4 separate regions of the Homo sapiens genome follow, and all the other regions are linked to region 2. Evidence: promoter capture Hi-C in 16 types of primary human blood cells and fetal thymus (Javierre and others, 2016). All regions are on one chromosome and are shown on one strand. Each heading gives the region's core, a stretch centred on a gene start or on the middle of the fragment in contact. The rest is flanking DNA. Distances are from core to core; before and after follow the strand shown.

Region 1 (2,867 bases), core at 126-2,625, 430 kb before region 2:
GAGCCAAGATCTCGCCACTGCACTCCAGCCTGGGAGACAGAGTGAGACTCCAACTAAAAAAAAATAAATAAATAAAAATAAAAATAAAATAAAAGCCAGCATGAGAGAAAAGAAAAAAGTCACTTGCAATTCTAAGAGTGGGTCTTTTTGGCTCTCTAATCAATAAAAGTTGAATTCTGGGCCTCTCCAACATAGATAAATGCCCCAGATTCTCAGGTTTTTGCTTTTAGGCAGATACTATGCTTGGCAATTTACAGACCTTGTCTCTAATCCTTATAACCCTACAGTCAATTTCAGAAATGTCAGAGTATATTGGAGAAGAGGGGATGTTAAATCTATGAAACAAATTATTAATGCTGTTACTAGCTGCGAAATCTGGAGGTTTAAACTCTGTGGGTCTCAGTTTTCTCCTGTAAGATGGGGATAACAGAACACCTACCTCAGAGTTAAGACGATAAATATACATAAGGTGTTTAGATTATAAACACTATGTAAATGTTAGCTATTAATGTTAAATGAGAACACTAAAGTTCAGAGAAGTCAAGTGACAAAGTCGCATAGCTGTGATCTTTGTTAGGCCACACTCCAGAGTCCCTGCTCTTTGCCTCACACCATCTAACCAAAATCCTTCCTCCCTGGATGGGACTACTATTGCCATTTCCAAAAAACAAAGCCCTCTAAATGCATGTCAATGGGGGGCTTCCCCCAGGTGGTTTATTATCCTGCTAAAAAGGCATCTTGGGGGAAGGATTCCAAGAATAGAGAGAGGAAGTCTCCTGACAGGTTAGACTTCAAGGGTACAGAAAGAATATGGAAGAAAAAAGCCAAATCTGTCTCAGTTATTAGGTTTCGTAATTAAAGCAATTTAACTCAACTGAAGAATGCAATTGAAGATTTCACATGAATCTTCAAATCCAAACATTAAGAAATAAAAGAAAGGCTTGTATTTTCTTATAACTAAGCTGCAATCCCCACAAAACACAAAAATGTTTTCAAAGGTACATTACATGAAACTCCAAGAATATCAAGATAATTAGAGCTCTTAGGAAGGAAGCCCAAATAATTATCTCACTGATCTTTCAACACCTATCCAAGCTTCACCTTGAGTTCTGATGCGGTAACTCCTTATTTGTTATTCACATTGTTATGTGACATTTCTTCAGCCAGCAAGCCCACTACAGGATGAGTTCTACCTAGTAACTACCCTAAGGAGTAAATTTCTAACTCTTTAACAACACAGTAATTGACTTACACTAAAATGTTACTCACACTAGGAAAGGATATTCTTCGACCAGAGGAAGAGATGCCTCTCCTATACAGACTTTATTACCATCTCAGTGAAAACCAGGTTAAAAGCAAACCAATTTACAAAACTGCATTACCGAAATCACAACTCTAAGACTCAGTGAAGCCAAACATGTCTAAGGAAAGCAAATAAGCAAACTATTCTTGATGGAAGTTTTAAAAAGCACGATAGGATCTTTATCTCTTATAAATTGTTCATTATTCTATAGCAATGACTCTTAAGAAATTCTGTTGTCAGATTTATTTCCACAAATGTAAGTCTACCCTTGGTGAGGCAACTGGTTCTCTTGAAAAACTGCTGCCACAAGACAATTATCAGTTAAGCAACAGGTTTCATGTAGCAGGTAACAAAAGCTTTATCAGAGAACTCAGTGAGAGTGCACTACCACACATTTCATGTATTCCCAAGCAAAGAAAACTTAAAATGATATGAACTCATTTTCAATAAAAGTAGCTCAATTATCGAGGGAAGTAAGAAAACTCCAAAGTAAAAAAAGTACTACTAATGGTATCTGGTGAAGTCACCATCTTCTTTACACATTTCGTTAGTTCATTTAGACCTGGAGTTCTCATATATTTATGCCTGAGTGTTCTTCAGGATCCCTTTTACACTCTTAAAAATTATGAAGGACCCTAAAGGGTTGATATTTATGTGGCTTTGTCTATTGATATTTATCATACTGGAAAATAAACCTATGAAAAATTTAAAATATTTGATAATCCATTTAAATTTAATAAATTCACGTTAGTACAAATAACATTTTTATGAAAAATAAAATTGTCCAATAAAACATAAAAATTAGAAGAGTGGCATTGTTTTACATTTTGCTAATCTCCTTAATATCTGGCTTAATCCTAGCAGCTAGATCTCCTATCTGTTTACCCATTCAGTATATTGTGATTTTTTGTTGTTGTTGAAGCACAGGCAGAAAATCTGGCCCCACAGATTTATAATCGGAAAAGGAAGAAGTATTTGCTTTTTAAAGTAATTGTGGATAGTCTTCTTTGATACTACACCAAAACTCAATTAAGTGGTACTTTCTTAAAGGTTAGTTCAGTGTGAGTTTAAAACCATATCAATGAACTATGTGTAATCCGTTACATTAAAATCCATTGATCAATCTGGCATTTTGAACAGATCTCTTAGCTGTGTAGGATCCTGTAATATCACACATAGATCTTTTGGAAAATACTGAATTACTGAGATATTCAGATTTTCAAAATGTTGACACATTTCATAACATCGAAAATCATATTTATTTCATCATCCATCTCATCAGAAGACATTAATCATTGGGAAGCTGTCAAGCTCTTAGTGGCAAGTACAAGTTTTCCAAAACTAATTGTTGCTTGAAAGCTCAAATTTTATTTACTGGCAACCAATACTGTCAGTTTTCCTTGATATGACAGACTCACTGTTCGTTTAAGAAAAAAATAGTCTGCCAAATGCCCAAGGCTGAATCAAGTATAGTTTAATTATTTCAAGTATTCCATGAACAAAAGTAGCTGGCTCAGATCACAACATAATCACACAAGCACTTTGTCTTAAAACAACCATTTTA
Region 2 (2,743 bases), core at 135-2,634:
AGCACGAGCTGATAAGCACTGCTAGAAACCTAAGCTCTGATTTCAGCAAATGCATAGAAACACTTTTCAAAGAAGCAGTATACCTAGGCCGGCGCGGTGGCTCACGCCTGTAATACCAGCACTTTGGTAGGCCGAAGCGGGCGGATCACTTGAGGTCAGGAGTTCAAGACCAGCCTGGCCAACATGGCGAAACCCCGTCTCTACTAAAAATACAAAACAGCCGGGCGTCGTGACGGGCGCCTGTAATTCCACCTAGTCGGGAGGCTGAGGCAGGAGAATCGCTTGAACCCGGGAAGTGGAGGTTGCAGTGAGCCAAGATCGCACCGCTGCACTCCAGCCTGGGTGACAGAGTGAGACTCTATCTCAGTTAAAAACAATAATAATAATAATAATAATAATAATTAAAAAGTTTTAAAAAAGAAAAGCAGTATACCAAAGTCATTCCTTTACCCATACATACATTTACTCTTACTTGGACTCAGGAGTAACAAGGAACTCACCTCCTTTAGAAAACGAAGAAAATGAAATACTGAGTTAAGAAGGGGTTAAGGAGAAAGTATTTGTATTTATTGAGAACCAACTACTTTATCCACTTCAGTAAGCTCAACAACATACTCAGAAACGGGATTCACCTCTGAATTAGCAAAACCGACGATCCTAAAAAGCAATTTGGAGGAGTGGCAATGAAGAGGGACGACCTGACGTTCGCTCCCGCCAGTACCAAACCACTCGGGCCCACCGCCTTCCCCTTCCTCAGAGACCTAAACACACTGAGGCCGCGTTCCGGTAGCCGGTGGCATCTCCTGTCAGACGCCGGCCACTCCGCGCTCCTGTCACCTCCGGTGGAGGCGACCCCATCCCGAGGGCACTGCCGCGGGGGCTCGGCTCCGACTGCGGGAGACCCAGGGATGGGGTGGGGAGCCGAGCCTTCTAAATAAAGCTGTTACAGCTGCGGGTCCTGGGGCAGCCCGAAGGCCAGAAGGGGCGACCCTGGGACAGAGGCCGCGACATCCCTCGGGATCCCCACTGAGGCAACCGGGACAGCATTCGACGACTCGGCTCGCGAGACCCTCGGCGTGACGCCGGGTAGGACCGGGTCGACTGGCAATGGGGGAGGCCCTCCACCGCGACTGGACTGGATACCCGGCGGGGGTCCTGGAGAAAGGAAGGGCCGGCCGGCGGGCGCCCCACAGCCGGAAGGGGCGAGCCCGCAAATAGGGCTCACCTTCAGGTCGTTCTCTGGCAGGTACTTGCACAGCCGCGCTATTTCCACATACTTGTCCAGGTCTAGCGGCGCCATTTTAAGAATAACAAGCCGCGGCAACAGCGGCGGCGGCGGCTGTAGCAGCGGCGGCGGCAGCGGCGGAGGCCGAAGCCGGAACTTTCCCTGCGTCACGTCCGGCCCGTGAGTGGCGCCTGCGCAGCGCCGTTAAAGCGCGACCCGTTTCTCCCCGCTACGTCGGTACGCCCGGCGCCCCCTCTGGCTGAACCCCGACTGCAGGCCCCAAGAGAGCCCGCTTCGGTCCACCCCGCGAAACCTGCTGGGACCCGTAGTCGTCTGCCGCGGGGGTGCTGGGATGTGTAGTTTTCTGTTGTGGACAGCCACCCCTCTCTTTTCCTCCCGTTCCTCCAGACTTTCACCTCCCGGCAGCCGGCGAGGCTTTTCCGAGGCAAAACAGCGGAGTAGGTGGTCCTAGCCACTCACTGGTTTGTTTTTCCAACCCTTTTAAGCACTCTCCAGAATATCTTCACTTAACAATTGGGTAAGCCTGGCCGTAGTAACCGTTTGCACCTTTCCAAGTCCCTGTGAAAACCTCGCCTAAGCCTGTGGCAGAGATGTCAGGCCCCAGTCTTCCAGCCTGAAAGGAAGGGAAACGAATATTATTAAAGCATTTCTGATGCTAAATGCGATACAAATGATATTTTTCCTTTTAATCTTCGTAACGATTGATAGGAAAGTGAGGCTAGGAAACTGCAGTTCACCCCAAATCTCACAGGGAACAAAATGGTGGGGTCAAGATTGAAAAATGGCTTAAGCTTAAGCATGCTTCCAGTGAGAATCCCACGAGGGCAGGGAGTTTTTTGCTGTAACTCCAGCACCGAGAACAGTACCTGGTACTAGCATACCTTCAGCGTTCGTTTATCCAACCACTCTTTGCTGAGCAACAAAGATGTGCCAGGTACAGCTCAAGGCGCTTGCAGTACTTCGTGAACAAAATAGACAAAGATCTCTATTCTATCTGTAGCTACAAAAAGTACCAAAATTAGCCTGGCGCGGTAGTGCGTGCTTGTGGTCCCAGCTACTCTGGAGGCTGAGGCAGGAGAACCGCTTGAGTTGGGAGGCGGAGGTTGCAGTGAGCTGAGATCGCGGCACTGCACTCCAGCTTGGGCGACAGAGCGAGATCCTCCTCAAAAATAAATTAGTAAAAGGAGCTGCTGTATGGGACTAGGGGTGGGGGTGCAATGCCTATAGCTAAGAGACCAGTTAAGAGACTGTTATGTAATCCAATAGTAGCAGGCGCTCAATAAATATTTGTTGCTCAAGAGACCCTGGAATTAATCCTCTTGCTCTCTAAAGTATATTTTGTGGACAATTGGCTAACCCTGAATGAGATATCTGGGTGAACTTCTTTGTATTATTCTTGTAACTCCTCTGAAAGTATGAAATTGTTTCAAAGTAAAATTAATTTTTAGAAGTTTGTTGCAGAATGAATGATGCCCACAAGCATTCATTTCTTCATTC
Region 3 (2,946 bases), core at 413-2,912, 280 kb before region 2:
ATGGAACAATGCTCCTGAAAGCTGAGGGGCTGGATAAAGCAGTAACAGTGCTGATGTAGTGGCTTTAAGGCTAAAGAGAGAACTTCTGAAATGATGAGATTCACCTGGCTCACAGGACAGGGACCACAGCAGAGCTGCCATGCTTCTCATACCTTGGCTTTAGACCAACAGCTGCCCGTTTTATTTCAATCTATTATTTTTGGTTTTTTGAGACGGAGTGTCGCTCTGTTGCCTTGGCTGGAGTACAGTGGCGCGATCTCGGCTCACTGCAACATCCACCTCCTGGGTTTACGCCATTCTCCTGCCTCAGCCTCCCGAGTAGCTGGGACTACAGGCGCCCACCACCACACCCGGCTAATTTTTTGTATTTTTAGTAGAGACGGGGTTTCACCATATTGGCCAGGATGGTCTCAATCTCCTGTCCTCATGATCCACTAGCCTCGGCCTCCCAAAGTGCTAGGATTACAGGCGTAAGCCACTGTGCCTGGCCAGTCTATCTCTTTAGCTATGATGGTAGTGGTGGTAGCAACAGGTTGGGACTAACTTGGTTCCTTTTACTGCTACTAATCTTCAACTGCTGCTTGTATTAGTCCATTCTCACACTGCTATAAAGAATACCTGAGACTGAGTAATTTATAAAGGAAAGAGATTTAATTGACTCACAGTTCCACATGGCTGGGAGGCCTCAGGAAACTTACAAGCATGGCAGAAGGAGAAGGGGAAGCAAGGTACATCTTACACGGTGGCAGGATAGAGCAAGCGAGCGAGGGGGGAAGTGCCATACTGTAAAACCATCAGCTCTCATGAGAACTCACTCACTATCACAAGAACAGCAAAGGAGAAATCTGCCTCCATGATCCGATCACCTCCCACCAGGTCCCTCCCTTGACATGTGGGCATTACAATTTGAGATGAGACACGGAGCCTAACCATATCACTGCTCAATGTCAAAGCAGAGGATCCAGGAAGCTTTGAATACATGAGTTCTTACATCCCCACTGAGGATGCCCATTCTTCCCCAGAAAAGGTTGTAGGGCAACAAAATCTCACTGTGAAGACTTGTACCTCTTTACATGTACTCTGTTCCCTCAAATTCCCTTATCTTACACTTCCGTTGCTCCATTTCAAGCCATAAACTTTCATGTTCAGTTGTAACTTGGCCGATCTCTCCTCAGGATAAGATGCAGCAACCAGGGTGTATGGTTTTGGGAAGAAGTATTTGCCATTCTGAATTCTCACAGGTGGACAACAGAGATAGTGGAGGGGAAGTCTGAAGACTAGATTTATGACCCCACAATTCAATAAACTTTCATCAAGCCTGAACTCTATCTGTTGTTTTCTGAGGATACAATCAACATTAATTCCAGCATGGAGGCTGGTGGTGGAGACAGACACACACCTAATTACAAAACAACTGTGCTTCAACAGAGGGACACACACCGTGCTATGAGATATGAGATGCAAGAGGGATTAACTGGGAGAATCAGATCAGGCCTCCTGAATGGGCAAGTCCAGGTGAAAGAGGGTGGAAGAGGAACAATCATTCTGCATAAAGGGCAGCACATACAAAGAGGTAACAGACAAGTCCTGCAAGGCTAGAGGCTGGGTGAGGAGGAAAGAACAGCTGAACACAACTCTCAGGTCTGTGGCTCAGACACCTGGGCAAATGGTAACATTATGCAAGGTGGATAACACAGGAAAGTGAGTGAGTGTGATAGGAAAAAAAAAGCCAGTTTTGGCCATGTTGACCCATCTTTATGGGTCTCTTATTACTAATGTTAATACTAGCAATAGTTATAACTGTAATATAGCAGAAGCAGCTATAACAAGATTGCTGCAGCAATCTTGAAAAAGAATAACTGTAGGCTGGGCGTGGTGGCTCACGCCTGTAATCCCAGCACTTTGGGAAGCTGAGGTGGGCAGATCACGAGGTCAGGAGATCGAGACCATCCTGGCTAACACGGTGAAACCCCATCTCTACTAAAAATACAAAAACAAAATTAGCCGGACGTGGTGGCAGGCGCCTGTAGTCCCAGCTACTCAGGAGGCTGAGGCGGGAGAACGGCGTGAACCTGGGAGGCGGAGCTTGCAGTGAGCCAAGATCGCGCCACTGCACTCCAGCCTGAGCGAGGAGCGACACTCCGTCTCAAAGAAAAAAAAAAAGGAAAGAAAAAGAGTAACTGTTGATGTAAGAGTTGGAGAACATTACCTGATTTCAACTCTAAAGTGACAATGACCAAGACAGTGTGGTAATAGCGTAAAGACAGACATATAGGGTCAAGGGAACGCTGCAAGCACTTCCTATTATGTCTAGTCCTTACAAATGCTCTTTATCACATCCATTTACAAGGAAACTGAAGCTTAGGGACTAGCCCAAAGGCATATACCTATTAGCGATAGATGAAGAATTTAAATCCAGGTCTTCTGGATCCAAAGTCTGCATTTGTTCCCCTACACATCAATCTGAATTCAAGAGGTATAGATGACCCATTCCAGTTAAAACCAAAACAACACATCTTACACAGGTCACTGTGTTAGGCAAAGTTAGGGACAGAAAAAGAATCAGTGGCCAAGTTCCACTTATGCCTCTTGTGCAACATATTGATATGCGATCTCCTTCTCCAGGCTGGCTGATTTACTTCAGGCCCTCTACACCTCATGTGGACTACGGGAACAGTTACCAAGCCATACTCCCTGACATCAAACCTGCCCCTTTCCTAATGATCACCCTCTTCACCTACTCCCTCCCGAGTCTGGGTCTCACAGTTATAGTCCCAGAATATGGACTGCATCAATTCTGGGTGGTGGTCACTTGATTCAGACAGACATGAGTCTGAATCCTGGCTCTGTCATTGACTCCAGCTGTACGGTCTTGACAAATCATTTAGCCTTTGATGTCAGATGCCCATTACTATCACCTGTAAAATAGGAAAACACTGTCTAACC
Region 4 (2,876 bases), core at 231-2,730, 340 kb before region 2:
ACAATGTGCCCAGGGCCGGGGCATGGGTTGGGGGGGTGCCTGAGCAGGAGAGCCAGAGGGCCAGGGAATAGTAGCTCTGGGGAGCTGTGTCTGGGAGCCACATCTGGGTGTGGGGGGACAGCTTTATAGGCCCAGCTCAGAAGGGTCCCACAGTGACCTAGGCCCTCTGGGATCTGGGATGGAGTGGGACTGCCTCAAAGCTGTCATTGTCGCTCCCTCACCCGCCTGACTGTCTGGGACTTAAAATAGCAGGAGCACAGCGGATCTCCTGAGAAGTTTCTGGCAAAGAGGTTTAGGGGGGGAGGGTGTGAGTCGCCGCTGGGAACTCTTGAGTTTGAAGCTCCCAAAGCCCAGCTGCTCCACCCCTGCCCCCAGGGAGCCTAGAATCCATGGGCGGGGCAGGTGGGGGGTCCTCTGTTCCCTCCCTGTCCTGCTGTGGGAGTGGGGAGACTGGGTCCTGCCCCAGCTCTGCCATGGAAGCACCGGCTAGATGGCTGGGCCAAGTCCTGCCCCCTTCGGACCTCAGTTTCCCAGATGTACCAGGAGTTGCGGACCTCAACATCTGCTGAGAGGTCCCTGGAGTTCATGGCAGGTGGTCCCAGTACAGACACCCAGAGTCAGACAGCCATGGGCTGAAATCCCAGTTCCACTCCTACTGGCTGAGTGGCTCTGAGCAAGTCCTCCCAGCTCTCCGGGTGAGTTTCTTCACCTGTAAATTAACAATGAAACCAAGTCCTGCTCGTTCCAAGCTTCAGATTGCGCTATCCGGTAAGGATCCTGGCAGCTCCTGGGCAACTGCCCCCCAGCCCCAGCCTCCACCCCATCCTCAGATGGCACATTTTGTGCTGCCAGGAATGTTAACAGCAACGTGACCCCACTTTTAATGCCATGTACTTTACACACACTACCTCTGGCTTCCACGCCCTGGAGGACAGAGCTGGCTACTGTCCCCAGCGCTCTCCTGGGACATCCTTAACCTCAGTACTGGCCACTCCTGGACGGAAGGGGTATTGGCTCCTGAGGGGGCCCTCTTGGGCATCTACCGTGTGCCAGGCCCTGTGCTTGGCTCACCCCTGGAGTCCTGTGGGGCAGGGCTGATGCTCCCGGTTGTGCAGATGGGGAGACAGGCTCGTTGCTCCCCTGTATCAAAGAGGTGCAGGGACCCCTTGCAGTTCGCAGTCCGCAGGGCGCGGGGCCGGGCTCTGGGCCGCGCGGTGCGTGTGGCTGGCGCGCCCTCTAGTGGCCGCTCTGCCTGCCGTGTTGCCCCGCGCGAGAGCTGCCCTAGAGTGGACGCGCAGCCGCTGGCGCGGGAAGTCCCTTCTCCCAGCCCGCCGCGGTCCCGCCTGCTGCGGCTCCACCTCCGCCGAACTGCAAGCGGTCTGGCCTGCCTGTCAGTCCTCGTGGCTTCGCAGGGACCCCACCATGGCCGCACGCCCCGCCCCGATTACCATGGAGACCGCCTGTACACAGTTTCCTCTTTCCTCTGCCCAGTCCTGGGGTCCCGCGGCCGCCTAGGAGGGAGCCCGCCGGGGCGGGGCGGGGCCGGGTGCCCATGAACAGCGGGGTCCCGGCCACGCTGGCCGTGCGGAGAGTGAAATTCTTCGGCCAGCACGGCGGGGAGGTGAGGTCCAGCGGGCTCTGCCCAGACTCCCGGCTTTGGATGCAGAGTGGTTCCTGGTTCTGTGTAGTGGGGGTTCCAGAATGTTCTCTGGGCAGTGGCTCAGGACATTGAGTCCAGAGTAGACTTTGCTAACCCAAGAAGGATCGAAGTAGGTTCTCAGCTCCAGTGCCGGGCCCCAGCTCCAGAGCAGCTCTAGGTTCTAAGCTCTGCCTGTAAAAAGAGCCCCGGGCTCTGGGCTCTGCCTCGAGAGGGGCACAAAGCTCCCTGCTGACTCTGGTGTTTTCTGGGGCCCTGGCTCTAAAGTGAACTCAGAACTTAGAGTAGATTCTGGACTCTCCGTTGTCAGCTGCGGCTCTGGAATGGGCTCTTAGCTCTGGGGTTCCAGGCTCTGGTTCCAGAGAAGGCTCTTGCCTCCAACTGCAGGCTCTGGCTTTACGGGACTCGAGAGAGGGCCCAGTGGGTCCCGGGTTCTGGGCTCTGGTGGTGGAGTGAGGCTTGAAGTCAAGCTCCAACCCCAGGCTCTTGGGGGGCAGTGTTTAGGGGTCAGAGATGAGCGGACAGGGGTTTCTTCCCCAGAATGGGACCGCTTTTGTGCTGTTTCTAGGTCAACTCTTCTGCCTTCTCCCCTGATGGCCAGATGCTGCTCACAGGCTCAGAAGATGGCTGCGTGTATGGCTGGGAGACCCGGAGTGGGCAGCTGCTGTGGAGGCTGGGTGGCCACACAGGTGGGGCTCCCACACCTGGCCGGGAAGACCGAGGCACAAGGGTCTGGCATGCTGCAGAGCTGACTGCAGTGACCTCCGATGAGCTGGGCACGGGTGCAAGGCAGGGCTGGGCAGGTTGGGAGATGGGACGAGATATCTGGGTGCTGGGGCTTAGACTCTAACAGGCCTGGACTCAGCCTTCTTTAAAAACACACACACACACACACATACATACAAAAACAACTGTAATGTAACACAGTAATACTTACTGTTGCATCCTTTTTTGTGTGTGACAGAGTCGCTCTCTGTCACCCAGGCTGGACAACCTCGGCTCACTGCAACCCCCGCCTCCTGGGTTCAAGCAATTCTCTGCCTCAGCCTCTCGAGTAGCTGGAATTATAGACACCTGCTACCACACCCAGCTAATTTTTTTGTATCTTTAGTAGAGACGGGGTTTCACCATCTTGGCCAGGCTGGTCTTGAACTCCTGACCTCGTGATCCACCCACCTCGGCCTCCCAAAGTGCTGGGATTAAAGGCGTGAGCCACTGC

Evidence for each region. The method cuts DNA at HindIII sites, captures the fragments that hold promoters and counts their contacts. A CHiCAGO score of 5 or more calls a contact.
Region 1: a contact is called between a fragment that was not itself captured here and the fragment with the promoter of PPP6C in region 2, in 2 of 17 cell types (naive CD8 T cells and total CD8 T cells). The highest score is 6.0, in naive CD8 T cells.
Region 3: a contact is called between a fragment that was not itself captured here and the fragment with the promoter of PPP6C in region 2, in 3 of 17 cell types (M1 macrophages, endothelial precursors and megakaryocytes). The highest score is 7.6, in M1 macrophages.
Region 4: a contact is called between the fragment with the promoter of WDR38 here and the fragment with the promoter of PPP6C in region 2, in 1 of 17 cell types (endothelial precursors). The highest score is 6.5, in endothelial precursors.

The regions. Positions count from the first base shown.
Region 1 is chr9:124,760,256-124,763,122 of GRCh38, forward strand. The region is part of intron 1 of NR6A1 (nuclear receptor subfamily 6 group A member 1); the gene reads right to left. It overlaps LOC124900274 (a long non-coding RNA gene), which reads right to left. Exons shown (of 2, transcript XR_007061773.1): 1 at 1-2,867. Among named protein-coding and RNA genes, the nearest start is that of NR6A1, 9.6 kb to the right of the region's middle. RefSeq lists enhancers at 271-826, 827-1,381. The HindIII fragment of the contact is 564 bases long and covers 1,094-1,657 here.
Region 2 is chr9:125,188,419-125,191,161 of GRCh38, forward strand. PPP6C (protein phosphatase 6 catalytic subunit) reads right to left here and starts at 1,385. Exons shown (of 7, transcript NM_002721.5): 1 at 1,226-1,385. The coding sequence starts at 1,300. RefSeq lists enhancers at 707-1,493, 1,494-2,280, 1,583-1,662. The HindIII fragment of the contact is 2,825 bases long and covers 1-2,035 here.
Region 3 is chr9:124,912,352-124,915,297 of GRCh38, forward strand. The region is part of intron 10 of GOLGA1 (golgin A1); the gene reads right to left. Among named protein-coding and RNA genes, the nearest start is that of GOLGA1, 27 kb to the right of the region's middle. The HindIII fragment of the contact is 1,391 bases long and covers 968-2,358 here.
Region 4 is chr9:124,851,980-124,854,855 of GRCh38, forward strand. WDR38 (WD repeat domain 38) reads left to right here and starts at 1,481. Exons shown (of 9, transcript NM_001045476.3): 1 at 1,481-1,621; 2 at 2,226-2,346. The coding sequence starts at 1,553. RefSeq lists a silencer at 1,533-1,582. The HindIII fragment of the contact is 17,878 bases long and covers 748-2,876 here.